4 separate regions of the Homo sapiens genome follow, and all the other regions are linked to region 3. Evidence: promoter capture Hi-C in 16 types of primary human blood cells and fetal thymus (Javierre and others, 2016). All regions are on one chromosome and are shown on one strand. The core of a region is centred on a gene start or on the middle of the fragment in contact, and the rest is flanking DNA. Distances in the headings are between cores, read along the strand shown.

Region 1 (6,136 bases), core at 734-3,233, 340 kb before region 3:
CATACACTCACTATACTACATGAACCAGCAATTGCCCTCCCATGCATTTGTCCCAGAAAAATGAAAACTTATGTACACACAAAAAACCGTGCACAAATGTTTGTAGCAGATTTATTTGTAACAGCAAAACACTGGAAACAACCAGTGTAAGACAAACTTGTCTTACAAGTGAATGGCTAAACAAACAGTATGCATCCATACAATAAAATAACACTCAGCAATAAAAAAATAAATTATTTATATATGCAACAACTTGTAAGGATCTCAAAGGCATTATGTTGAGTGAAAAATCAAACTCAAAATGTTACATACTGTATGATCCCATTTATATAACATTGTCAAAATTACAGAGATATAGAAGAGGTTAGCATTTGCCAGAGACTTAGTATGGTGAGGGTGGGTGTCACTATAATGAGGTAGCACCAGGGAGACCTTTATGGTTATGGAATTGTCTGTATTTTGACTATAGTGGTGATTACACAAACATACACAGGAGAGACTGAACATAAGCAAAAGCTAGGAATATTACCAGACCCAGCTGGAAATAATGTTCAGCCGGGTGGGGAGGTTCATGTCTGTAATCCCAGCACTTTGGGAGGCTGAGGTGGGTGGATCAATTGAGGTCAGGAGTTCGAGACCAGCCTGGCCAACATGGTGAAACTCTGTCTCTACTAAAAATACAAAAATTAGCCAGCCGTGGTGGTGCACACCTGTAATTCCAGCTACTAGGGAGGCTGAGGCAGGAGAATTGCTTGAACCCAGGGGGCAGAGATTGCAGTGAGCCAAAATTGCACCATTGCACGCTAGCCTGGGCGACAGAGTGAGACCCCATCTCAAAAAAAAAAAAAAAAAAAGAAAGTAAGAATATTCAAACACTTATTACAATATAGACATCGACTCTTAAATTATCCCAAATTATGATATAATCATATTCAGTTGATGGGGAATAGAAAGTGTTCACGTGTGGCATTAAGTCAGCAATGGTGGAGCATTATATTACCATCTGTAATTGTGGGAAGTCAAAAGTAACGCCTAATACTGAAAAATGAAGAAGTGGCAATATGAACATGTTATATGAGATATGGCAGTAAAAGTCTAAGATAATCTATTAAAAATTGAGAATAGTTGCTTCTGGGAGATAGAATATGGTTGGATGTTAGGGAGACTCCAATTTTTATATGTAAAACTTATATAACTATTTATTTGACTCTTAGTGTGTACATGTAACTTTGAGAAAGATAAACACTAATTTAGATCATTACACGAATGTTATAGGAGTTACACACAAAGGCCAGGTGGGGTGGCTTACACCTGTAATCCCAGCACTTTGGGAGGTGAGGATGGTGGATCACTAGAGGTCAGGAGTTTGAGACCAGCCTGGTCAACACAGTGGAACCCTGTCTCCTGGCATGGTGGCATGCGCCTGTAATCCCAACTACTTGGGAGGCTGAGACAGGAGAATCGCTTGAGCCTGGGAGGCAGAGGTTGCAGTGAGCCAAGATCACACCACTGCACTCCAGCCTGGGCAACAAAGTGAGACTCCATCTTAAAAAAAAAAAAAAAAAAAAAAAAAAAAAAAAAAGTTATATATAAAAAGAATATCCATACTATTAGCACTAGTAAGAGAATTTCATAAGCTTTCCAGCTCTAAGATTGATGTTCAAAACTCAATTGCAATCCTATTCAGTAGTCAACAACCACTGAAAAAAGTAATAATAAATTTTAAAGATTCCATAAACTAGAATATATTAAAGGCGTCTCTAACTAACGATGCAAAAGACCATTATAGAGAAAAAAACTGTAAAATTGTAAACTGAACTTCATAAAAGAAAACCTAAATAAATAGAGGTATACCATGCCCATAAATGGGAAGTCTCAATACTGGAAAAATGTAAATGTCTCCAAAATAATATATGAATTCCATGGAATCAATTAATAAATCTAAAAGGATTTTTCATGAAAGTTGATAAAGTGAGTCTAAAATGCATTTAAGCCAAGAATAGTCACAACAATTTTGGATAAGAAAAGGTGAGATGACTTGCCCAAAAGATATCAAAACTTACTGTGGAGCTATGCTAGGCCAGGCACAAGCATACCTCGGAGATATTGCAGGGGAATGTTGTGGCTAGTTTGATCATCTCTCGAGACCACTAAAATTTTCTCCTTATCAGCAATAAGACTGTGTTGCTTTCTTATCAGTCATGTGCTCACTGGAGTAGTATTTTTAATCTCCTTCAAAAACTTTTCCTTGGCATTCACAGCTGGCTGAGTGTCTGGTGCAAGAAGCCTAGCTTTCAGCCTGTCTCAGCTTTGGGCAAGCCTTTTTTTACTAAGCTTCATCATTTCTAGATTTGATTTAAAGTGAGCGATTTGCAACTCTCGCTTTCACTTGAGCACTTAGAGGCCGTTGCAGGGTTATTAATTGGCCTAATTTCAGGCCAATGCCTCTCCCTGTGCCTCAGGCTAAGTAGGGAGGCCTGAGGAGAGGGAGCAAGACGGGGGAACGGCCAGTAGGTGGAGCAGTCAGAACACACAAGACATTTTCCATCAAGTGTGCTGTTTCATAAGGACACGGTTCGCGGAGCCACAAGACCATTACACTAATCACAGATCCTCAGATCAGATATAATAATTATTAAAATTTGAAATATTGCAAGAATTACCAAAATGTGACAGAGACACGGAGTGGGCACATGCTGTTGGAAACATGGCACCAATAGACTTGCTCAATGCAGGGTTGCCACAAACCGTCAATTTGTGAAAAACGCAGTGTCTGTGAAGTGCAATAAAGTGAAGCACAATTTAATTTGCCTGTATTGACAGAGAGCTAGACAAGTAGATCAGTGGAACACAGAGCTCATCGAAGGAACCACAGATCTATAGACACTCGCTATATAGCAAAGCTGGCAGTGGATATCAGGGGGTGCTGGATAATTAATCCTTCCAGAGAAAAGATAAGATTCCTATCATCTATAAAAAAATAAGATTCCTACCATCTATAATGCATACACACACGTGTGCACACACACCAGCAGAAAAATATAACAAGATGTGATGGTGTGCGCCTGTAATCCCAGCTCTTTGGGAGGCTGAGGCAGGAGAATTACTAGAACCTGGGAGGCGGAGGTTGCAGTGAACCTAGATCGTGCCACTGCACCCCAGCCTGGGCGATGGAGTGAGACTCCGTCTCTGTCTCAGCCAGTGTCCAGAAGAGCTTTTCCCAAGTTTTCTTCTTTTTATAGTTCCAGATCTTACATTTAAGTCTTAAAAAGATAAATTTAATAAAAGTGCACAAGGTTTATATTAAAAACAAAGCTGTTTGTAAATGACATAAAAGACAACATGAAAAAATATAAAAATATACAGTGATCCTGAAAAAGAAGCCCCAATATTTATACCACTGTATGTATAATATAGGAATACTCTGGCTGTGTACATCCAATTCCCTCTCCCAGCCTTTGTGCCATTGTATCAGGTATTATATGATATTAATGCGTTATTATCATAATATCCACACTGCGTTATTATTTTTAGCTTTAAACATTCACTTATCATCTATAGATTTTGTTTAAATGTCTTTTAAATTTATGCATCTATTTACTTTTTCTGTTCTTCATTCTTGTGTATGGATCCAGATTTACATCTGGTGTCATTTTCTTTGTGCCTGAAGGGTGTCCACTAGTATTTCTTATAATTCAAGTCTGCTGGTGATGATTTCTTTTGCTTTTGTTTGATTTTAAAATACATTAATATCGGAATAGAAGAAAGGAAAACTCCTTAACTCTTTAACTTCCTAAAAGGTATCTATTTAAAAAATGCAATAAACATTCAAAAATATTATATATATATGTGTATATATATATATGTGTATATATATATGTGTATATATATATGTGTATATATATGTGTATATATGTGTATATATATGTGTATATAATATGTGTATATATATGTGTATATATATGTGTATATATATGTGTATATATATGTGTATATATATGTGTATACATATATGTGTATATATATGTGTATACATATATGTGTATATATATGTGTATACATATATGTGTATATATATGTGTATATATATATGTGTATATATATGTGTATATATATATGTGTATATATATGTGTGTGTGTATATATATATATATATATATATATATATATATATATATAGCGAGATGAAAGGGATAAATGGAAAGAGTAAAACTTAAGCAACAATTGGAAATTTTTTTTGTGTAACAAAAGCTCCCAAATCATACCAATACTGCAGCTTTGTGCACCAAGCTAGAGGAACAAGGCAGACTCTCCCACACATGCCCAGGGAAACAAATAAAAGAATGTTTGTTGCAAAGTTGTACTAGCAAAACACTGAATGAAGCTTCAAAATCTGTCTTGAGAAGAATTGATAAATTGTGGCATATTCTTACAATAGAAGACCACAGAACAGTGGAAAATTAATAAAATGTAGCTCCATATATCAACAGAAATAAACCTCACAAACTGTGTTAAGCATAAAAAATAAAGTTCCAGATTGCTGTGTACAGTGTCAAAGCATCTATATAATGTTAAAATATGAAAAGTAATACTATACATTGCTTAAGGATTCATACATATGTTATAAAGTTATAAAACCATGCTTGAGAATGATAAATTCAGAACAGTGTTTTGTTTTTTGTTTTTTGTTTTTAAAGAACTGAAGATCATAATGGCAAATGTTACTGTTTTTAAAAGATAGGATGTTAGGTCCATGGGTATTGTTTGTATTTTTTCTGTACATTTCAGAAGAGAAAAATGCTTATGCAACTTCCCAGTGATTTCAAAATATATGTGTGTTAAAATGAAATCATATTTTCAAAAGCCCCGCACAAAAGTAAAAACTGCTCTGAAAATTAAGGATTGTTCATGACCAGGGGCAGAATGGAAACTTCTTTTCTTGAGCAGTTTAATTCTCTTGGTTGGAAGCAGGGCCAATCTGAAGCTCAGTACATCAGGGTCAAGACATCCCTGGAGTCCTCATGAAGAAAACTCGTCCCTGACTCAGCTCCAAAGCTCTGAGGGAAGGAACACCAGGAGGGTGTGCGGAAGGGAGCGTGTCCGCGATGGGGGTGGCAGGGACGGAATAAAGGGGTCTTTAGTGACCTATAAGTCCTTGCAGCCTCTCCCCACTTGAACCCCTTGGAGAGGGCTGGAGGTAATGTATCACAGGGCATGCAGGGGCTGTAGAGAAAAAAAAATCATTCATTCATGTGTTTGTTTATTCATGTATTAATTTCACAAATATTTATTGAGCACCTACTATATGGCAGGTATTCTGCTTAGTCTGGATTCGTGGCACAGATCAGAAATAAAGCCCCTACTCATTACACCCCAATGCCACTTTCTGGGTTCTAAACTCTCTCCCATACCCACATTCATCTTTGCCACTAGTCAGAACCTCCAAGTCCCTTGAATAGGTTCTATTCATTGATTTTAGCAATACTTTCCTTATGCATCCCCAAAATATATCATATGAAAACTGAAACATGTAACAGTGTATTGGGGGACTCTGGAGTTTGGGTCTCAACATTCATACCACTACCACACCTTGGACCCCCTCCTCCCATCTCCAGGGTCCCAAAGAATGGAATTTGAAACCTTTCCACCTCCAGGGCACTACACAATGCACGGATCTGAAAGACTCTAGGAATCGCAAAAAACATTTGGAGAAAATAAAGAGTGTTCCCAACCTTCCCTTGAGGCTGGATCACTCTTGAGGGCCCCAGTGACTTTGTTGGGCTTGCCCTGTAGGCCTCTTGCCAGCCTGTCACCCAGTACCGAAGACTAAAGCCTATCCTATGTTCACCTGTCACAGGTTCCACCTCCTGCAGATGTAGGTCACTGTGAAACTCATCACCAGCAGCACCCTGAGGCCCAGGAGGAAAACCACAAAGACAAGGGCAGGCATCTCTGGGCCTCAATGCCAAAGGATAGAAGGAGCCGTCACGTGGAGGCTCTGTGAGTTTAAAAGCCCTCTCTGAGGTCATGTAGTCAAGAAGTTCTAGAGCTTGCAGGTTGCACCTGATTCTGATTCCAAACCCATGTCTTCTCTCCACATTTAGTCCTCTCTTGGAAATAAGAGTTGACCTTGACC
Region 2 (6,435 bases), core at 607-3,106, 300 kb before region 3:
GAGGTAACGTCTGTCAGGTAATGGCAAAGGTAATGTTTATATCCAAAGGTAATGTTATCACCATAATGCTAACTATAACATTATAAATATATTTTTAAATGGCCACAATACCTCAGGGCCCTTGCATCATACTCTGCCGTGTGACTTTGCTGCTCCTCCCTGGGAGAAGTGATTTCTATTTCCCCACCTCTTGAATCTGGGCTGGCTTGTGACATGTTTGCACCAACAGAATGTAATGGATGTAAATTCACACCAGTTATACAGTCTCAGGAGGCACTGCATGTTATCAGATGTTGACGGACACATAGCCTGAACACCCCTCTAACCCTAGCTGATAGCCAGTCAACTACCAGACATGTGATTTAGACCATCCTAAATAAACCAGCCCCAGCTGACCCACCCTTTCTGATCCCAGACACAAGGAGCAAATGCAAAGTTAGCTGAGCTTGGCCCAGATCAGCAGTGCTACCCAGCTGACCCACATGAGCAATACCAAAAGCTTTCTATTTAAAGCCACTGAATTTCGGAGTGGTTTGTTATACCGCAATAGCTATGTGCCTCACTGGCACCTAGGCATAACAATGCATGTAGGTGCTTATTTGTTGTAACACACTGTGATTACAGAAGATTAGAAGCAGCCTCAAGGCTCATCAATAGAACACTGATCAAATAATTACAGGAGAGCCAAACAATGGAATATTATGCAGCTGTTCAAAAGAACGAGGCAGCCCTATGTGAATCAACATGGAACAAACTCCATGATGCATTTTTAAGCGAAGCAGCAAGAGGCAGAAGAGTATACAGAGCAAGCTACTATTGATCCTGTAAAATACTTGCATTTGCATGGACTGTCTCCGGGTGGGTACACAGAAACATGTAACAATGGCTGTCTCTAGGAAGGGGAACTGGGTGCCTGGGGAACAAGAGTGGAAGCGAGACTTCCTTTTCACGCTATCCTCTTTTTTATCTTTTGAATCGTGTAAATGTGTTATCCATTCAAAAATAAATAAAACCAGAATGTAAAAACTCCTATGCCTTTCAAATGCAGAGAGCCTTATTATTCTCTTTCCAAGACTCCCAAGATCCACCGGGACCAAAAAACAGCAGTCAGGGAACAATTCCGATTTTCCCTCCTCTCTCCCCCACAGCCCCCACCCGCGCAGAGCGAAGCTGGCTTCTCCGGTAAACCCCTGCTTGTGAGTTGCGCCCAGGCGACACTACCTCGCCTGCCACCGGAGGGCAGCGCGAGGCTTCCTTCCCGGGGAGGAACTGCGGCGAGACGGTGGTCGGCCCTGAATAGCAAGCTGGCTCCTAGATCAAAGGCTCTGGCATTCCGTTTTTGCGTGCATGTTTGTTTGTTTTCTTTCTTTCTTCTTCCTCTTCTTTATTTTTTTAAAGGTCTCGACCCAAGAACCCCATTCCAGGCAGTAGGTTCGCCAGCCATTGCTTGTGCGTCTTCGCGGAGAGAGAGGGGGGAGATGCCCCGGCGCTCCTTACCCGGCTGGATAAGACCCTTTGGGGAACTTGCTGCTTCGCAAGTCTTACTTGTGAGGACCCGGAGGGTTTGCCTTTGACCCCGCCTGTGACCTTAAGAAAACCCCTTTCTACCCTGCGCCTGTCCCACAGCTGGAAGTGATAATTTTAAGAATGAATTAAGCACTCGGTGTGTGACACTGCGGCACTAAGCACTTTCTGGACTGTGTTAGGCCCCATTTTACAGACGGGGAAGCTGAGGCCTCCAGAGGCGGAGTAACCTGCTCATGGTTACAAAGCTGGTCAGCGGCGGGCAGGATTTGAATCCAGGGTTCCCGGTTCCTAATCCTCTGCTTTTACCACTTAATTTATCCTGCCTCCAAGGGCTGCTGGGAAAAAGGCGGATTTCAAAGGAGAAGCAGCTAAGGAAAAGCTCTGGAAAGGGCCAACGGAGCGGATATTCCCGGAGCCCCTCTGCGAGCCACGCGCCCCTCTGGGAAGCCCGCTTCCCCCTGCAGACAGGCGCTGTGACACGCTTGCGCCCCGGTCGAACAGGCGAAGAGGCCGAGGCCCAGAGCGGCGCAGGGCGAGCCTGGAGGCTGCGCCCCAGACCTGGACCAGCCACGGACGCCGCTCCCGCCGCTCCCTCCGCTCCGCTGCGCTCCGCACGCTGGCGCCGGCTCCCCGAGGCCCCGGGCGCCCCGGCCGCACGCCTGGGTAAAAGGTCCCGAGGAGTCCGCAGAAGCGCGCCCACGCCCGAGACGGCCGTTTCCGCCGGCCTGGGAAAGGGGCGGAGAAGGGGGTCGCCCGGGCCGCAGCGTGCCGGTCCCCGCCGGCCGAGCCGTGTTTGGGGCCAGTCCCCGCACCCCGCTTCTTCCCCACCTGGGGAGCGGGGCGCCGCGGTAGGGGCACTGGAGCGCACGATGCACCCCGCCAACGAGTCCTTTCTGCAGACGGGGTTCCTGTTTTCATGCAAATGCCTTTGTTAGCGCACCGGGAACCAGGGGGACGGAACTGCAGCTGACGCGGGCTGCGCGCCGCTTTTCCGCCTTCGCTTGATTCGGCCTCAACGACTTAAACGCGCCGGGAACAAAAACGCCGGCGCCGCGGAAACCCTCAGGAGCGGCACGAGAAGCGCGGCTCCGCTGGGGTCCGCGAGAAGCGGTGCGGGCGGCCGGGCTGGTGCCTGCAGGCCCTCTCACCGCATCACCAAGGGCAAGGAACCTCCAACTGTCCCTCAGTTTCTCTACCTGCACTGGGATGTCCTACATAAGGAGTCAGCTCAGTGCCCGCATCTTGCTGTAATTATTTTGTCCAAGCACTGTGGGAGGCAGCGTTGAGGAGGCTGTTGTGGGGAGTTTGCCTGTCAGAGAGAAGAGGGAAATAAACAAGAAACATACAGACAAAATAATTTCAAATAGCAACAAGTGTTAATATCGTAGCAAACACCAATGCAGCGCTTATGCCAGGCTCTGCTCTATGCTATATGCACATTAGGTCATGTAATCCTCACTCCCTTGTACAGATAGGAAAATGCTGGTTGAATAATCTATTGAAGGGAAATAGGAAGTTGAACAATATGTGGAGAAACAGGTTGCACGATAGGTGGAGAAACAACAGGTTGCACGATATGTGGGGAACCAGGTTGAACAATAGCCTCAAGTGCGCAGTAGGTAGGCTCGGCACTTGAGAATATTGGGCCCAGCCTGGGTTTCGACCCAGCCAGTCCAGCCCCAAGTGGAAGCTTTTGCACACTCCATTACACCAGTTTTGGCTGTACTAGGAAGGATGTAAAGTGGTGACACGCCCAAGAGAGAGCTGGGGCTAGACAGGAGCTGCTCCTAAAAGGATGTCAATGGACGTCTCTGTGCAAGAGAGTAAGCTGAGGCCTGCACAGTGAGAGGAACTAGCCATGCAAAGAGCTGGGCGTGTCCAGCAGAGAAAACAGCAAGGGCAAAGGCCTTGAGGTGGGAGAGTAGATGTGGGGTTTCATGAACATAAGGATGGAACTCAGTGAGCAGTAGTAAGGAGACTGGAGATGGTCAGCAGCTGGGGGTAGCAGGCTTTGCAGGTCTCGGCAAGGAGCTGGACTTTTATTCTAGGTGTGATGGGAAGTTGTGTTGTTATGGCCACTGAAGGAGTTGCGTGGATGGAGTTGGACCAGAGGGTGGGTGCCCTTCCTGCCTTGCCAGCCTTAGGTTCAAGGAGGAAGTTGATTGCTTAGGCCTTAAGCTTGCCCCTCCTCATCTGACCTCCTGGCTTCTAGGACATTCCTGAGGACGTACACCAAGTCTCCAACATTACCTGATGTCAGATCAGGTAAGCCCTCATCTTATAGATAGGGCTAAGACTGAGGCCCTGACTTCAGGGATGTGTCTTCACCTTTGAGTAGGAGAAGCAGGGGTGGTATCTGCTTCATCTACTCATGTACCTGCAGCACCTAGCACAGGCTGACCAGCCCATCCTTGGACCCAGGCAAGCGGGGCTCTGCCCTGGCCAGCCTCCAGCTGCGTACATCCCCACAGGCTAGAGAGTCTGCAGTGCCAAGGGGATATACCCATCCAAGTCTTTGCTCCTTGTCTAGAATACTACAGATTCCTAGGATTCCTGAGCTCCCTACCTAAAAGTCCCAAGCCTGCTGCCAGGCCTCTTCCTGGTCTATTGTCTGGAGGCAGAACACTAAGCCCAGGGTGTAGCCAAGGGGCACTGCAGAGGATAGGGTGTGGATGGAGATTGGACCTGCAGCCTGGGATGTCTACACACATGCAGGTGAGGTGTGCACGGTACAGGATGGAGCTGGGGATGAGAAGGGAAGGTGGCAGTTTATAGGCTGGGAAATGAGCGACCAGGGAATGGGGCTGGCTCTCCCCAGCACCGCCACATTTCAGTGCGAGTATCTAAGAAATCCAAATCAATCCTGGCCTTTCAGGCTGCTGAGAAGTTATACTTACTGAGGAGAAGGATAGAACATTTAAGAGAAGGTATTGGTCTGATTTATAATTTTTAAATATTTAGATTTAAGGGTGAGTGGACACCAGCCTCCACCAATATCAAGAGTGTGTTTGGCCTAGACCCTAGGAGATATTCAATATTTATCAAATAGATGGATGAATCTCATTTAATTTAATCCTCACACAGACTCAACGGAGGGAAATCACATCGTCTGTGCTTTATTGATGAGGGAACTAAGGCTTGGAGAGATTTAATGACTGGCCTATTTGTCAAGTTAGAAGTTTGTCTAGCAGAGCTGAGAGCCTCAAGCCCTAACGTGTCTGATTCCAAAATCCATTGCAATTGGTTCATGACAAGTTCACTCCCATTATGACCACATTAAATATATTATAACTGTTTGAGCATGTCACTCGCTGATCTTTGGGAACATAAGCACTGTTTATATTACATGAAAAAGGCCTTCTCTTCTTCATTCTTACTCTACCCTCTCAGGCACCTTTGGGAAGTAGTAAGACAGGAGCTAATGCTCCATTTAACAAATGGAAAACTGAGGACTGAGCAATAGCCCAAGGTGTCAACGAGGCTTAAACAAATAGGGATTTTTTTTTTTTTTTTCATGTAGCAAGAAATCCGGAGGTAGCTGGGCAAGGGCTGGTATAATTTTTGCATTATTTTCAGCAAACAACTTCTGCCTCTTGGTCTCTTCTGGCTATTTATTGCTACAGCATAACAAACTGCCCCCAAACAACAACCATTGTATCGTCTACAGTTTTGTGAGTCAGAAATTTGCGCAGGGCTCAGCTGGGTGATCCTTCAGTGATCCATGGAGCGCCGACTAGAGTCACTCAGTGATCTTCAGCTGCTGATTGTGCTATGCTGGAGGATCGAGATGGTTTCACTCAGGTTCCTGGTGCTTTCGTGGGGATGGCTGGAACACTGAGCTCAGCTGGGTCCGTCTGCCTCTCCATGGAATCCCAGGGCTTCTCCAGGTGGGTGTCTCCAGCAGAGTAGTTTGACCTTTTTCATGGCAGCTCATGGCTCCCAGAGGCCATAGCAGAAACTGCCAGTCCTCCTAGAGGTTAGGCCTGGAGTGGGCGTGACATCATTTCCACCATACTCTATTGGTCAAAGAAGTCACAGGTCAGCCCAGATTTAAGTACAGGGGAAATTGACTCCTCTCAAAGGGAGGAGGATCAAAGAATCCACAGCCATCTTTAAATTATCACATGGTCCGAGCTGCTTGAGATGTAGTCATCATGTCTCAAATTCCAGAAAGTGTGGAGGACTGGTGGAGGAAGGTGTTTACCTTCCCTTTTAAGACATTTTCTGGAAGTCACACACAACATTTTCCATTGGCCAGAACTTACATGGGCATACCTAGGATATGGAAGGGAAACTGGAAACTGTAATCTTTATTGCAGGAGGCAAGCCATGTATTCTGATGAAAATTAGGGATTTTGTTGACTAAGGAAGAAGGGGAGCATGGGTATTGAGGACCAACTAAAATCTATTCCATGGTTAGGTGTTTTGTTGTTGTTGTTGTTGTTTTTGCTACCAACAGCCAAACACTGTTCCTAGCAGAGATGTTTCTATACCAGTCTTCTCCTTCCTAACACATCTTCCACTCTGTCATCAAAATAATCTTTCCTTTTTTATTATTTGTTATGTTCCTATACCGTATATCTTTTAATCATTCCTATGCCAACAGCAAGTGTCCGAATTATTTTGTGTTGTGTGAAACAGTAATGGGGTTTGCCACACACCAGGCACTGTGCCAAGCACTAAATGAACATATCTCACTTGATCTCCGCAGTATCCCACTGAGTGAGGATCACAGACGAGGAAGCAGAAACCCAGAGAGGTTAAATGACTTGCTCCGGGCCACACAGAGAGTAGGTGCAAGGCTGAGATTCAAACCCTCGACTGTCAGATTCCAGAGCTGTGCTGTGAAACCCACACATGTGAAGCTCAGGGACTGTTTATGGATGACAGCCCCGGAGCATGGGCAAG
Region 3 (6,926 bases), core at 3,918-6,417:
CAAAAAACCTCACTGCTGCTCTTCTCTTCTACATTTCTTCTATCACTAAATATTGAGCTCAGTCAGATGTTTGGTACTGTCTGAGGTTCCAGGGATACTGAGGCAGGCATGTTTGTCAACAAGAAAGATGTAGAAGAGGGCTCGCTGTAACGTTTACACTGCTTAGCCTGGGGAGGGGCTGAGTGCGATCAAGAGATGTGGAGTGTCTGGGGCCTCAGTTTGAAACCCAGCTGTGCCAGCTTCACATTCGGTTTCTTCATCTGTAAAATGGGGCTAATGAAAGTCACTACCTCATGGAATTGTCGTAATTCTTTGTTAATCCCTGTGCCTGGCAGACAGAAAACTTTAGTAAATGTTGGCTATTAGTCCTAACAGTAAAGTATAGGTTACTTCCATAAGTTAAGCAAGACAAAAACAAAAACTAAAAATTTGGTCAAGGCATCAAATGATTTATCAAGCAGTCCAGCCCTCTTAACAGCATATAAAAGGATTCACACTCCTTGTGGTCCTCCCAGAACTTCATATTCAATCTCTCTCAAAATTCAGGTGGGGGATACAGCTGGAGGCCATTATCCTAAGCAAATTAACTCAGGAACAGAAAACCAAAAACCAAATACCGCATGTTCTCACTTATATGTGGGAGTAAACAATGGGTGCTCATGGACATAAAGACAGGAGTAGACACTGTGTATTACTAGGGTGGGGAGGGAAGGGCAAGGGTGGAAAAGCTACTGGTTACTATGCTCATTACCTGGACGATGGGCTCAACTGTATCCCAAACCTTAGCATCACACAATATATGCATGTAACAAACCTGCACAGGTACCCCAAAATCTAAAAAAACAAGCTGGAATTATAAAAAGTAAATAGGCCGGGTGCAGTGGCTCATGCCTGTAATCCCAGCACTCTGGGAGGCCAAGGTGGGAGGATGGCTGAGCCAGGAGTTCGAGACCAGCCTGGGCAACATGGTAAAATCCTAGTGGCATGTGCCCACAGTCCCGGCTACTCAGGAGGCTGAGGTGGGAGGATCACTTGAGCCCAGGAGGTCAAGGCTGCAGTGTGCCATGATCATGCCACTGCACTCCAAGCTTGGGCAACAGAGCAAGACCCTCTCTCAAATAGATGGATAAATAGGTAAGATGCCTAAAAACAAAATAAAAACATGTATATGTGTATTAGAAAACAAAACAAAACAAAATCAGATAGGAAAACTAGCCAGGAGGAAAGACACTGCTGGCTGTGCTAAACCTACGAAGCCAGTGATACAGGAATGGGGCCAGGGCCACACAATGCAGCCTTCTGTCCTTAGAAACTTCTAAGTAAAGACACAAGTGTTCGCAGCTACAGGGTTTTGGCTTTTTTTTTTTTTTTTTTATGTTTTAATTCAACTTTGTCGTGGTACAATTTACACACAATAAAATTCCATCACCCAGAAAATTCCCCTGTGGCCCTCAGCAATCAATTCCCACCTGAAAAACAACCACTGATACGATTTCTGCCACTCTAGACTATTGTTGGTTGACTTTATATTAATGGAATTATAGTATGTGTTCTTTTCCAATTTTTTTATAGCTTTATTAAGTTGTAAAACTGATTTACATAAATACACCTAATATAAAGGGTACAATTTGAAGTGTTTTAATATATTCCTATCTTGAAACTATTACTACAGTCTAGATAACCCATCACCCCAAAAAGTTTTATGTCCTTTTGTTTTCTATCCACCCTTCCTACCCCAACTACTGATCTGCTTTCTGTCACTACAAATTAGTTTGTATTGTTAAGAATTGTATATAGAATCATCTAGCAGGTACTCTCTTGTGCCTGGCCTCTTTCACTCAGCATAATTATTTTGATTCATACATGCTGTTGTATCAATACTTTATTCCTCCCCCCATCAACACACCCTCAGCAACATTTCATTGTATGGGAATACCACAATTTGTTTATCCATTCATTTATTGCTGAACACTGCAGCATTTTCCAGTTTGGAATTCTTATGGGAAAAGCCACTGTGAATTCCTATACAAGTTGCTTTATTAACAGAAGTTTTCATTTACCTGAGACCCATGGAATTGCTGGGCCACAGGGTAGACATATATTTAACTTTATAAGAAACTGCCAAACTGGTTTTTTTTTTTTTTCCCAAAGTGGTTGTACCATTTTAAAATCTTACCACATGGCTGGTTTCACAAGCTTGTATCCATCTCATGGCTTTTGTACTTGTTCTTCTTTCTTCTTGGAATGACTTCCCATTCGGTTTCAGAGCTGGGTTCTTGACATTCAGGTTTCAATTCAAATGTCAAATGCCAAAGAGGCTATTATGGACTGAATTGTGTCCCTCCTCACTCCAAATTCATGTTGAAGTTATAATTCCCAGTACCTTAGAATGTGCCTATATTTGAAGATAAGGTCTTTAAAGAGGTAATTAAGATAAAATAAGGCTGTCGGAATGAAGGACAAAAACCATACTATCATTTCAATTGATGCTGAAAAAGCATTTGATAAAATTCAACATGGTTTCATGATAAAAACCCTAAAAAAAACTGGGAATAGAAGGAAAATACCCCCACATAATAAAAGCCATATATGACAAACCCACAGCTAGTACCATACTGAATGGGGAAAAACTGAAAGCCTTTAAGATCTGGAATACAACAAGGATGCCCACTTTCACCACTGTTATTCAACACAGTACTAGAAGTACTAGAAGTACTAGCTAGAGCAATCAGGCAAGAGAAAGAAATAAAGGGCATCCAAATAGGAAAGGAAAAAGTTAAATTATCCTTGTTTGCATATTATATCTTATATTTGGAAAAACCTAAAGACTCCACCAAAAAACTGTTAGAACTGATAAACAAATTCCGTACAGTTGCAGGATACAAAATCAACATACAAAAATCAGTAGCATTTCTATATGTTAACAGTGAACAATCTGAAAAAGAAATTTAAAAAGTAATCCCATTTACAATAGCCATAAATAAAAATACCTAGGAATTAATTTAAAGAAATGAAAGATCTCTATAATGAAAACTATAAAACACTGATTAAAGAAATTGAAGAGGACACACAAAAAATGGAAAGATATTTCATGTTCATGGATAGGAAGAATCAACATTGGTTAAAATGTCCATACTACCCAAAGCAATCTAAAGAGTCAATGCAATCCCTATCAAAATACCAATGACATTCTTCACAGAAATAGAAAAAAGGTTATGGTTAAAAAGACCTTCTGATCACCATTTTGCAACTGTAATAATTGTTTCAAGCAAGAATCACCATGAATTCTGAAACCAGTGGGTAAGAGTCTAAAGAAGAGGATATTTAAATAGTCTCAAAATATCTTCCCACAGAATACTTAATAGTTACAGAAGGAAAAATCGTAACTTTATGGTAGAGTGTAACTACTCCTACACCACCTCAACCAAATGATGGAAGTTAACACCACGAATACTGGGACAAACACAATGCCATGTGCCTCCTGATGAAAGGCCCTGAGGAGGCAACTTTTTTCAGCAGTAGTCCTGCCAAAAAATGCATACCCTCTCAGAATAGCAAGGGATGGGTTGGTGGGGGGTGGGGGAGGAGAGAAAAATGGATACTCTGAAACTAATAAGAAAACACAGATGAATAAAAATTTAGGGACATTCTACAATATAACTCGCCAGTATTCTTCAAAAATGTCAAGGTCATGAAAGACAAAGAAAGGCTGGATAACTAACTGCCCTTCCAGATTAAAAGAAACTAAAGAGGCATGACAACTCAGTGCAACGTCTGATCCTGAATTGGATCCTGGGGAATAGCTATAAAGGACATTATTGGGACCATTAGCAAAATTTAAATATGGATGGAGTGTATTAAATAAAACAATTGTATCATTGTTAAAATTCCTGATTTTTGACCACTGTACTGAGATTATGCCAGATAATGTCTTTTTTTTAAGGAAACACACACATATATTTAGGATAAAGGAGTTTGATGTTGGAAACTCTAAAATGATGTAGTAAAAAAGAATATATACATTATATATGTGTGTGTGTGAATATCTATATACCGTATACTGATTTCCTTTCTTTTGGGGTATATACCATATAGATATCCACACACAATATGTATTTGTGTGTATATATACACATACACGAGAGGATATGGATATGCAGCAAAATATAACAATTTGTTATTCTAGTGGAAAAGTATATGATCTTTACGATTCTTGAAATTTATGTGTAAATTTGAAATTTAATCACAAAAAAGTTAAGAGGTTTTCAGCGACCAAATACATTATAAGAAATGGCCTGTATCCAGTGAGCACTCTTTAGCTCATTCTTTTTCTCCATCACACTTACCACTGGCAAAAATTATCCTGTGCATTTATTTAATAATACTTAACATTGTGTGCAAGGCTGTCCTAAGTGCTTTACCTGTATAACCTCTGTGGATCTTCTTACAGGTAAGGAACAAATACACAAGAAGGTTGACTAACTTGCCCAAGGCCACCCATGTGGTTTGTCTCCTGCAGTGGCACAGAACCTCAACCAAGGCAGAAACTGCCTTGTCTATTGCTCTTTCCCCAGCGACTTGGAATGGTGCCTAGCACATTACGGGTGTTCAATAAACATCTGTAGATTCAGTTAACAAACACTGGGCACCCACTAGGCCTACACTGGAATACAAAATACAGAACAAAATATTCAAAAATCTGTGCCTAAATGGGAGCTTTGGGTACTAACAGCCCCACACCCAATTAGCCTCCATCTAGGTATTTCATTTGGGTCTATCATTCCTGGGAATTAAAGCCCATTCTATCCATTTTGCAGAGGATCATTAGATAAACGGATGCTCAGGGTGGGTCAATGATTTGCACAAGATCACTGGGCTGGTAGAAGGGAAGGTCGGGATTCCAACCCAGTCCCTGAGGTTCCCAGGACAGAGCTATGAATCAAACGACCAAGACAATCACCCAGTCAGTATTTATTAGGCGCCTACTGCGGACGGTTGGTCTTCACGCAGATCAGGCGAGAAGGGATAGTGATGCGCGGGCCGCTGCGGAGACCCGGAGCCCGCCGCGGATCACGGGAATTTCGCGCCTATTTTTTGTTGGCTGGGTGTTCTCGCCAGTGATTGGGTCCCGGCAAGGCGTGCCGGTGCGCTCGGCTGCGGCTGCTCCGTCGACCTTTGCAGGACCGGGCGGTGCAGGGCTCACTCGGCTGGCGTCCCGGGGGATGGGCCACCAGGAGTCTCCGCTGGCCCGGGCGCCGGCGGGAGGTGCAGCTTATGTAAAGAGGTTATGTAAAGGGCTCAGCTGGCGCGAACACGTGGAAAGCCACGGGAGCCTAGGAGCCCAGGCTTCCCCAGCGAGCGCCGCGGCAGCAGAAGGATCCGCTACACGCCGGGCTCGGGCCGCCACCTCCCGCGCTGCTCGGTCCCGGAGGCAGCCCGGGCCCGGAGCGGACCATCCCCAGGCAGGGGCTCCAGGGGGGAAACGGGCCGCCCGGAAGTGGAGGTGCGCGGGCCAGGTAAGGGCGCCGTTGGAGGACTGAAGGCCAGCGCCGAGGCTGGAGTTACTGCCACTGCCTCCGCGCTTGGGAAGGGAAATCGGGTCCTCGGCCAGTCGCACTCCGAGAAGCCGAACTTTTCAGCCAATCCCTTCTACCCGTCGCCCTCGGGGACTTGGGTCGGTCCGCTGGGCTCCGCTAGGGCTTAATTCAATGGACTGTTTACACCCGGGCGAACACAAGGCGGGGCGCGGGGAGGAGCGTCACAGAGGGGGCCAAGCAAAGAAAAATATTTCCGCCGGCCAAATCGCGTCTCTAAGCGGTTTTCAGAAGGCGTGAAGCTTGCTGGCTCTTCTTTTTCCTATCGCTACATGACAAGCTAACAGAGAGAGCGGAGAGTTTGTGCTTTTCTTTCCGGTTCCCCCTCTGAGCTGCTGCCCAGTGGTTCGGTCTTTCCCGCTTTCCCCTCCCCTCCCCCGTTCAATCAGCGGCGGTGGCTTCCGTCTTAAAGGGGCCGCGGCGGCCGGGGGAGGAGGAGGTGGGACGCCCCGCGGCCTACGCTCCTGGCCTCCCCGCCTTGGCCTGGCCGTTTAACCGATTCTTTCGCCCGCAGGTCACAATCCAAGGTCCGGCTCCTCCGCGTCCCAGGGCCGGACGGAGGGATGAGGCAGGGGGGGCCCGGGCAGCGCCGTTGCTGCTCCCCCCGCCGCCCGCAGCCATGGAAACGGGGAAGGACGGCGCCCGCAGAGGTACACAAAGCCCGGAGCGGAAAAGGCGAAGCCCAGTGCCGCGGGCGCCCAGCACGAAGCTGAGGCCGGCGGCGGCGGCCCGGGCCATGGATCCGGTGGCGGCCGAGGCCCCGGGCGAGGCCTTCCTGGCGCGGCGACGGCCTGAGGGCGGTGGCGGGTCCGCGCGGCCGCGTTACAGCCTGTTGGCGGAGATCGGGCGCGGCAGCTACGGCGTGGTTTATGAGGCAGTGGCCGGGCGCAGCGGGGCCCGGGTGGCGGTCAAGAAGATCCGCTGCGACGCCCCCGAGAACGTGGAGCTGGCGCTGGCTGAATTCTGGGCCCTCACCAGCCTCAAGCGGCGCCACCAGAACGTCGTGCAGTTTGAGGAGTGCGTCCTGCAGCGCAATGGGTTAGCCCAGCGCATGAGTCACGGCAACAAGAGCTCGCAGCTTTACCTGCGCCTGGTGGAGACCTCGCTGAAAGGTAGGAGCACCGCGGGCCTTTCCACCCACGCAGGGCCTGGACCCCCTGCTCTCCGGACGGCTTGGCCCACACTGTTCCTGGCCTTCCTAGGCCTCAGACCTGGTCCCTGTCACCCTGTGCCCTGACACACCCTCCTTTCCTGGGCCCAGGCATTCGGCCCTCTCTTCTCAGGTCCTAAGATCAGTCCCTGGGCCTAAAGTTGGCTGGTGTTTCCATAACA
Region 4 (6,772 bases), core at 450-2,949, 370 kb after region 3:
GGTGCTCACTGTGTATCTGGCACTGTGATAAGCACAGTACATCTCATTTAATCCCCAAAATTGGGCCCATTATTATCCCTATTTTACAGATGAGGTCACTGAGGCTAGGAGAGGTTAAGTAACTTGCCCAGTTTCACAGCTGGGAAGCTGTGTTGGAACCTAGACAAAATGAATCCAGCGCCTATTCTAACCAGTTATCCAAACAATATCCTACCAGGTTTCCCTGCTTCCAGTCCCATCGAATATACATGCCAGAGCTAGAGCAATCTTTCTAAACACCACTAAGCTTATGTCATTTTGCTGGTTAAAATCCTTCAGTGGGCAGGGTGTGGTGGCTCACGGCTGTAATCCCAGCACTTTGGGAGGCCAAGGTGGGTGGATTAACTGAGGTCAGGAGTTCGAGACCAGTCTGGCCAACATGGTGAAACCCCGTCTCTACTAAAAATACAAAAAATTAGCCAAGTGTGGTGGCGGGTACCTACAATCCCAGCTACTTGGGAGGCTGAGGCAGGAGAATCGCTTGAACCCGGGAGGTGGAGTTTGCAGTGAACCCTGATCGATCCACCGCACTCCAGCCTGGGCAACAAAAGCAAAACTCCGTCTCAAAAAAATAAAAATAAATTAAATTAAATCCTTCAATGACATGCCTCACCACCACTGAGGTAAAATTAACATGCAAGGCCTTTAGTAACTAGCCTCCTGCCAATTCTTCCCGTCTTCCCTTCTTTCTTCCTTTCTCCTCCAGCAACTTTTTCTCAGTCAACAAACGCAGAAAAATCCAGTAACTTTTTAAATCTTGTTACCCTTCAGCCTTTGTTCCTTCAGTTCTCCGGGTCTGTAATATTCCCCCCATTTTCGCCGGGAACATTCTTGCTAATCTTTTAGGAATCTGCTCAGGAACCATCTATTTGAGAAAACATTCTTACCCCGCCCCGCTGCCGTTACTTTTACCGAATGACCACACTGAATTATATTATGTGTCCCCAGCTACCTCTGTGAAGGAAGCAAACATATTTCAGAGAGTAGCCCCAGCGCCTGAGAAGTCAGGCACAGGCAAACACGGAAACGTGATGAGCAACTGAGTGGAGCTCTTCCTCCATTCGCCATCACCCTCCTCCGCCCTCCTCTCCATCCAGCAGACCTAGCGAGACTCTAGCGTGGTCCACGAGCCCCTTCCACCCACTTCCGCCAACTCTTTCTCAGACTCACAAACTTCCGCAAGTCTGAGCCTTTTACCGGGTCCCCCTGCGGCTCCAGTGCCTGCTCCGAAGCCCGGGACATATATTTATTCGGCAAAAGTTAACTTAGTGCCTACTGGGTCCCAGGAATTATGGCTACAGCGGTGTCGAGAGCCGCGGTTCTACCCTCGCCCCTGCCGAGCGACCTCGGCCTCCGACACCGGTTCCAACCTTTTCCTCGACCCCATGCCTAGCCGAACCGCCAAGGTCCTGGTCTTTCCCGCCCAGACCGAGCGGCCTCGGCCCAGGCCTTCACCGCCCTAAGTGGCTCCAACCCACGGCTTCCTCCCCGATCAGTCGCGGTTCCCACTCCACAACAGACTCGGAAGCTCCCGCGCCGCCAGCCTGTGCCCTCCTTACCATGGTGGCGGTTCTGATGGCTCTGATACCCGCCGGATTCGCCTCCTCAGAGGCCTAGCCTCTCTCCCACAGCCGATTTCCCGCCGCCGCTACCGGAAATGCAGCACCACGTAAAATGCGGTCGGGTAGAAACCTACTTCCGGTCCAGCTCACTAGCCCTGGAGTTCCGGCCCCGGAGCGGAGCTTCTGCCGAGCAGAGGCGGGGCCTGGGGACTGGGCGTTAACATCCGGCTTTGACGTAAGGAGAGCCTTAAGTTCCTGTTTGGACACCTTCCTAGCTTAAATCCGTACTGAGAGCTGCTCTGTGTCACACTCATTTCTCTTCACCCCGCCTTTCCCATTAACCTCTCGGTCCTCATTTCCCATCACCCTCCCCGGCTCTCTCCTCTACAGTCACTATTCTTGCTTTTCCCTCCACTGGCTGGACGTGCTCCTTTTTCAGCCCCTCTGCATTTGCTTTCGCCTCTGCCTGGAATGGTAGTCCCCAAGGTATACCAGAAGGCTGCTGCCCTCACCTCTTTCAAGGTTTAAGCTTAAATAACATTTTCCCAGTGAGGATTTCCCTAGCCATCCTGTAACCTTCCCACCCACCTCATCCTCATCTCTCCTGTATTTCCCTCTTGCTATCTAACACGCTGTATATTTTTGTTAGTTATTTTATTATCCCCTCCCCATTAGAATGTAAGATCCATAAGGGTGTGAATTTTTCTCTTTGTGTATTACTCATTGCTGTAGTGCCTAGAACACTTTAGCACAAAATAAGGGCTCTACCCATATTTGCTGATAATCGCATCCAGTCGTATGACATTTATTTTTTTTCTATGACTTTTTTTTTTCTTTTGAGACAGAGTCTCAGTCTGTCACCAAGGCTGGAGTGCAGTGGCACAATCTCGGCTCACTGCAACCTCTGCCTCCCCGGTTCAAGCGATTCTCCTGCCTCAGCCTCCCGAGTAGCTGGGAATACAGGCCTGTGCCACCACACTCGGCTAATTTTTGTATTTTTAGTAGAGACGGGGTTTTGCCATGTTGGCCAGGCTGGTCTCGAACTCCTGACCTCAACTCCTGGTCTCGAACTCCTGATCCACCCACTTTGGCCTCCCAAAGTGCTGGAATTACAGGCGTGAACCATCACACTGGGCCCTTCCTATGACTTTTAAATACAGCATATACACCCAAGGCTTTCAAGTTTGTTCCTCTAACCTTGGTCTCTTCATTTAACTCTTGGCCCTTTATATCCAGCTGCCAGCGTGATGTGAATGTCTAATAGGTATACCAAATTTAACATGTTGAAAACTGAATTCTTGATTCTATTCACTGTTTCTAAAACCACTTCACCAGTGTTCCCCATCCCCGAAGTTTCTTGGATTAAAAAAGAAAAAAAAGAAAATGACAAATTTGAAGCATATTTCATTCTTCTCTTTCTCTGCCATCGAATAATCAAATTCATCAGCAAATCCTGTGGCCCCCACCTTCAAATTATCTTGAATATGATTGTTGTCACCCACTCCATTGCGTCCACTCTAGTCATAGCCACCATCGTCTCTGTCTTGGATCATTGAACGAGCCCGTAACTTGTCTCTTTGCTTCCTTTCTTGTTCTCACGGCAGCCAGAGGGATCCTTCTAAACGTACTGGGATATCAGATGATGTCATGTCCTGGTCTCCACTTACCAAAAACTTCCCAGCACACATGGAATAAAATCTAGCTCTGCGCTCCTCTCCAACCTCATTCATCTCCGTCAACATTGCCCTCATTCATCCTTCTCCAGTCACACTAATCTCCTTGCTGTTCCTCAAACCCAGCAAGGAGAGCTTCCACCTTGGTGCTTTGCCATCTTCACACCATCTCTAAAGGGTGTGTTCTGTTGTCCCGTTTCCTGTCACCTGTAGATGAAGAGGCGAAGCCTCATAGAAATGAATTATGTTGCCCAAAGTGGCGGAGTCAGAGTGGGAATATAGGTCCGTCTGGCTCCTCAGCTGTTCATTTGCCCCCACCTTACCCAGCTGCCTAACACTTCATTCATGCATGCATTTAAAATCATTTTTATTTAGCATCTACTAAGGCCATGCACCATTATTGGGATAGAGTCCTTTCCCTCACGGAGCTTTACATCCTACTGAGAAAGACATAGTAAACCAAATAAATAAGTATGCAATGTAACATTAGAGTGATATGAAAAAAATAAATAAAGGCAGAGGAACTGAGAGGGATAGGGTACAGTTTTGGCTAGGTGGTCAGGGGAAACTTCTCTGAGGAGTGGTATGTGAGCAGAGACCTGAACCTACACTCAGGTCTATCAGAAGGATGAATATTATGAAGGACATTCTAGAAAATGTATATAAAGGGAATCATATAATAATACGTGGTCTTTTGTGACTACCTTCTTTCACTTAGCACAATGTTTTTAAGGCTCATCCATGTCATGACACGTATCAATACTCCATTCCTTTTTATGGCCAAATAACATTCCATTGTATGGATGTACAGTAGTCCCCCCATATCCATCTTTCACTTTCTGTGGTTTCAGTTACCCACAATCAACTGCAGTATAAAAATAGGTGAGTACAGTACAAGATATTTTGAGACCACATTCATATAACTTTTATTACAGTATATTTTTATAACTGTTCTATTAGTATTGTTAATCTCTTACTGTACCTAATTTATAAATTAAACTTTATCATAGCTATGTATGTATAAGAGAAAATAGTATATATAGGGTTTGGTAGTATCTGCCGTTCCATGAATCCACTGGTGATCTTGGAATATAACCTCCTCAGATAAGGAGGGAACTACCATATTTTATCAGTTCATCAAATGACGAACATTTGGATTGCTTCCACCTTTTGGCTGTTATAAATAATGCTGCTGTAAACATCGTGTACAAGTCTTCACGTGGACATGCTTTCATTCCTCTTTGGTATCCAGATAGGAGTGGAATTTCTGAGTCATATGATAATTCTGATTAACCATTTGAAGAACTGCCAGACTGTTTTCCAAAGTGGCTTCACCATGATACATTCCCACAAGTGGCGTATGAGGGTTCTGATTTCTCCACATCTTCACCCATATTTGTTATTATCTGACTTTTTGATTCAAGCCATCTTAATGTGAAGTGCTATCAATTTCATCGTGGTTTTGATTTGCATTTCCCTCATGACTAATGATGTTGAACATCTTTTCATGTGCTTGTTGGCCATTTATATATCATCCTTGGAGAAATGCCCATTCAGATCCTTTTCTCATTTTTTAATTGGACCATTTGACTTTTATTATTGAGTTGTAAGAATTCTTTCTACATTACAGATACAAGTTCCTTGTCAGATATATGATTTATACAGGTTTTCTCCCATTCTGTGAGTTTTTTTTTTTTTTTTTTTTTTTGAGACAGAGTCTCACCCCATCACCCAGGCTGCAGTGCAGTGGTGCGATCACAGCTCACTGCAGCCTGACCTCCAATGCTCAAGCGATTCTCCCACCTCAGCCTTCCGAGTAGCTGGGACTACAGATGCATGCCACCACGGTGGCTAATTTTTGTTATTTTTTTTTTTTTTTGTAGAGACAGGGTTTCACCACGTTGCCCAAGCTGGATTCAAGCAATCCACCCACTTCAGCCTCCCAAACTGCTGGGATTACGGGCATGAGCCACCATGCCTGGCCTTTTCACTTTCTTGGTAATATCCTGTACAAAAGTTTTTTAATTTGGATGAAGTCTAATTTATCTTTTTGTTGTTGTTGTTGCTCATGTTTTTGGTGCAATAAGAAAAATCTTTTCTGCCAAATCTAAGATTATGAAGATTTACCCCTTTGTTTTCTTCTAATAGTTTTATAGTTTTAGCTCTTACATTTAGATTTTTGATATATTTTTAGTTCATATTTTATATATGGTATAAGGTAGGGTCAAACTGTATTCTTTTCTAAGTAGATATACAGTTAGCTCAGCATCATTTGTTAAAAAGACTCTTCTTTCCCCCACTGAATAATCTTGGCACCCTAGTGGAAAATCATTTGACCATTGACACATGGTTTTATTTCTGGACTTCCAATTCTATTCCTTTGATCTATATGAAGTCAGAAAAAGTGTGAATCCTCCTCCTTTTTCTTTTTCAAGGTTGTTTTGGCTATTCTAGATGCCTTGCAACTCAATTAGTTTGCCAATCTACAAATAAGGGAAAAGAGGTCATGAATTCAGAGCCGGGGATTAAACAGGCAATTCATCTGGTATTTACTTGATAAAATGGTCCCAAGTTTCAGTCTAGATCAGGGGCGGGCAAACTTTTTTAAAATATGTATAAGACTGGTTAGTTTCCAATATTTTTTTTGTTAAGGGCAGAGAGCATTTTAGGGCTATCGAGCCATTTGGTCTCTGTTGCAATTACTCAACTTTACCATGTACCATGGAAGCAGCTATACTCAATACCTAGCAAATGAGTGTGGCTGGGTTCCAATAAAATGTTATTTATGGATACAAATAGATGTCACAAAATATTATTATCCTTTAAATTCTTTGCGACCATTTAAAATGTAAAGACCATTTACATTTTGTGTAAATGTAAATGTAAAGACCATTTACATTTTGTGTGGCTCAAGGCCACACAAAAACATGTGATCAGCAAGGATTGGCATTTAGGCTGTAGTTTGCCAACCTCTGATGTAGACCATTAGATTTCTGTGTCTAGATTCAGGGTCACAGCCCCAGCTGAGTATTCATAATTAATAGTTTTGACTTGCATTATTTATTTGGCTTATCTCTGGGCTCACCAAATATATGCAGTCAAAATTCATGTCTTTTCCCTCATTTTAAAAACACACACATATACCTTCACACTTGTATCAATCTACGTTCGACAGGGAGACAGAAACCATACAGTAATTTAAATTAAAGAATTATTTTGCCAGGGATGGTGGCTCATGCCTTTAATCCCAGCACTTTGGGAGGCTGAGGCAGGCGGATCACCTGAGGTCAGGAGTTCAAGGCCAGCCTGGCAACATGGTGAAACCCCATCTCTAAAAATACAAAAATTAGCCGGCTGTGGTGGCGGGTGCCTATAATCCCAGCTACTCAGGAGGCTGAGGCAGGGAGAAATGCTTGAACCAGGGAGGTGGATGTTGCCGTGAGCTGAGATCGTGCCATTGCACTCCAGCCTGGGCAACAAAGCAAGACTCGATCCCCA

What was found. The method cuts DNA at HindIII sites, captures the fragments that hold promoters and counts their contacts. A CHiCAGO score of 5 or more calls a contact.
Region 1: a fragment that was not itself captured here is called in contact with the fragment with the promoter of STK35 in region 3 in 1 of 17 cell types (M2 macrophages); the score reaches 5.3 in M2 macrophages.
Region 2: a fragment that was not itself captured here is called in contact with the fragment with the promoter of STK35 in region 3 in 2 of 17 cell types (naive B cells and total B cells); the score reaches 9.7 in naive B cells.
Region 4: the fragment with the promoter of SNRPB here is called in contact with the fragment with the promoter of STK35 in region 3 in 7 of 17 cell types (erythroblasts, total B cells, activated CD4 T cells and 4 more); the score reaches 8.2 in erythroblasts.

The regions. Positions count from the first base shown.
Region 1 is chr20:1,762,109-1,768,244 of GRCh38, forward strand. No RefSeq gene overlaps it. Among named protein-coding and RNA genes, the nearest start is that of SIRPG, 110 kb to the left of the region's middle. The HindIII fragment of the contact is 697 bases long and covers 1,636-2,332 here.
Region 2 is chr20:1,801,257-1,807,691 of GRCh38, forward strand. No RefSeq gene overlaps it. Among named protein-coding and RNA genes, the nearest start is that of SIRPA, 91 kb to the right of the region's middle. RefSeq lists a silencer at 2,116-2,365. The HindIII fragment of the contact is 2,718 bases long and covers 498-3,215 here.
Region 3 is chr20:2,096,660-2,103,585 of GRCh38, forward strand. It overlaps STK35 (serine/threonine kinase 35), which reads left to right and starts at 5,168. Exons shown (of 4, transcript NM_080836.4): 1 at 5,168-5,516; 2 at 6,109-6,706. The coding sequence starts at 5,223. RefSeq lists silencers at 5,054-5,243, 5,344-5,633, 5,644-5,693, 5,984-6,513, 6,534-6,583 and an enhancer at 5,929-6,897. The HindIII fragment of the contact is 3,640 bases long and covers 2,195-5,834 here.
Region 4 is chr20:2,469,090-2,475,861 of GRCh38, forward strand. It overlaps SNRPB (small nuclear ribonucleoprotein polypeptides B and B1), which reads right to left and starts at 1,700. Exons shown (of 7, transcript NM_003091.4): 1 at 1,599-1,700. The coding sequence starts at 1,601. RefSeq lists enhancers at 1,320-1,439, 1,600-1,649, 1,660-1,709. The HindIII fragment of the contact is 1,844 bases long and covers 285-2,128 here.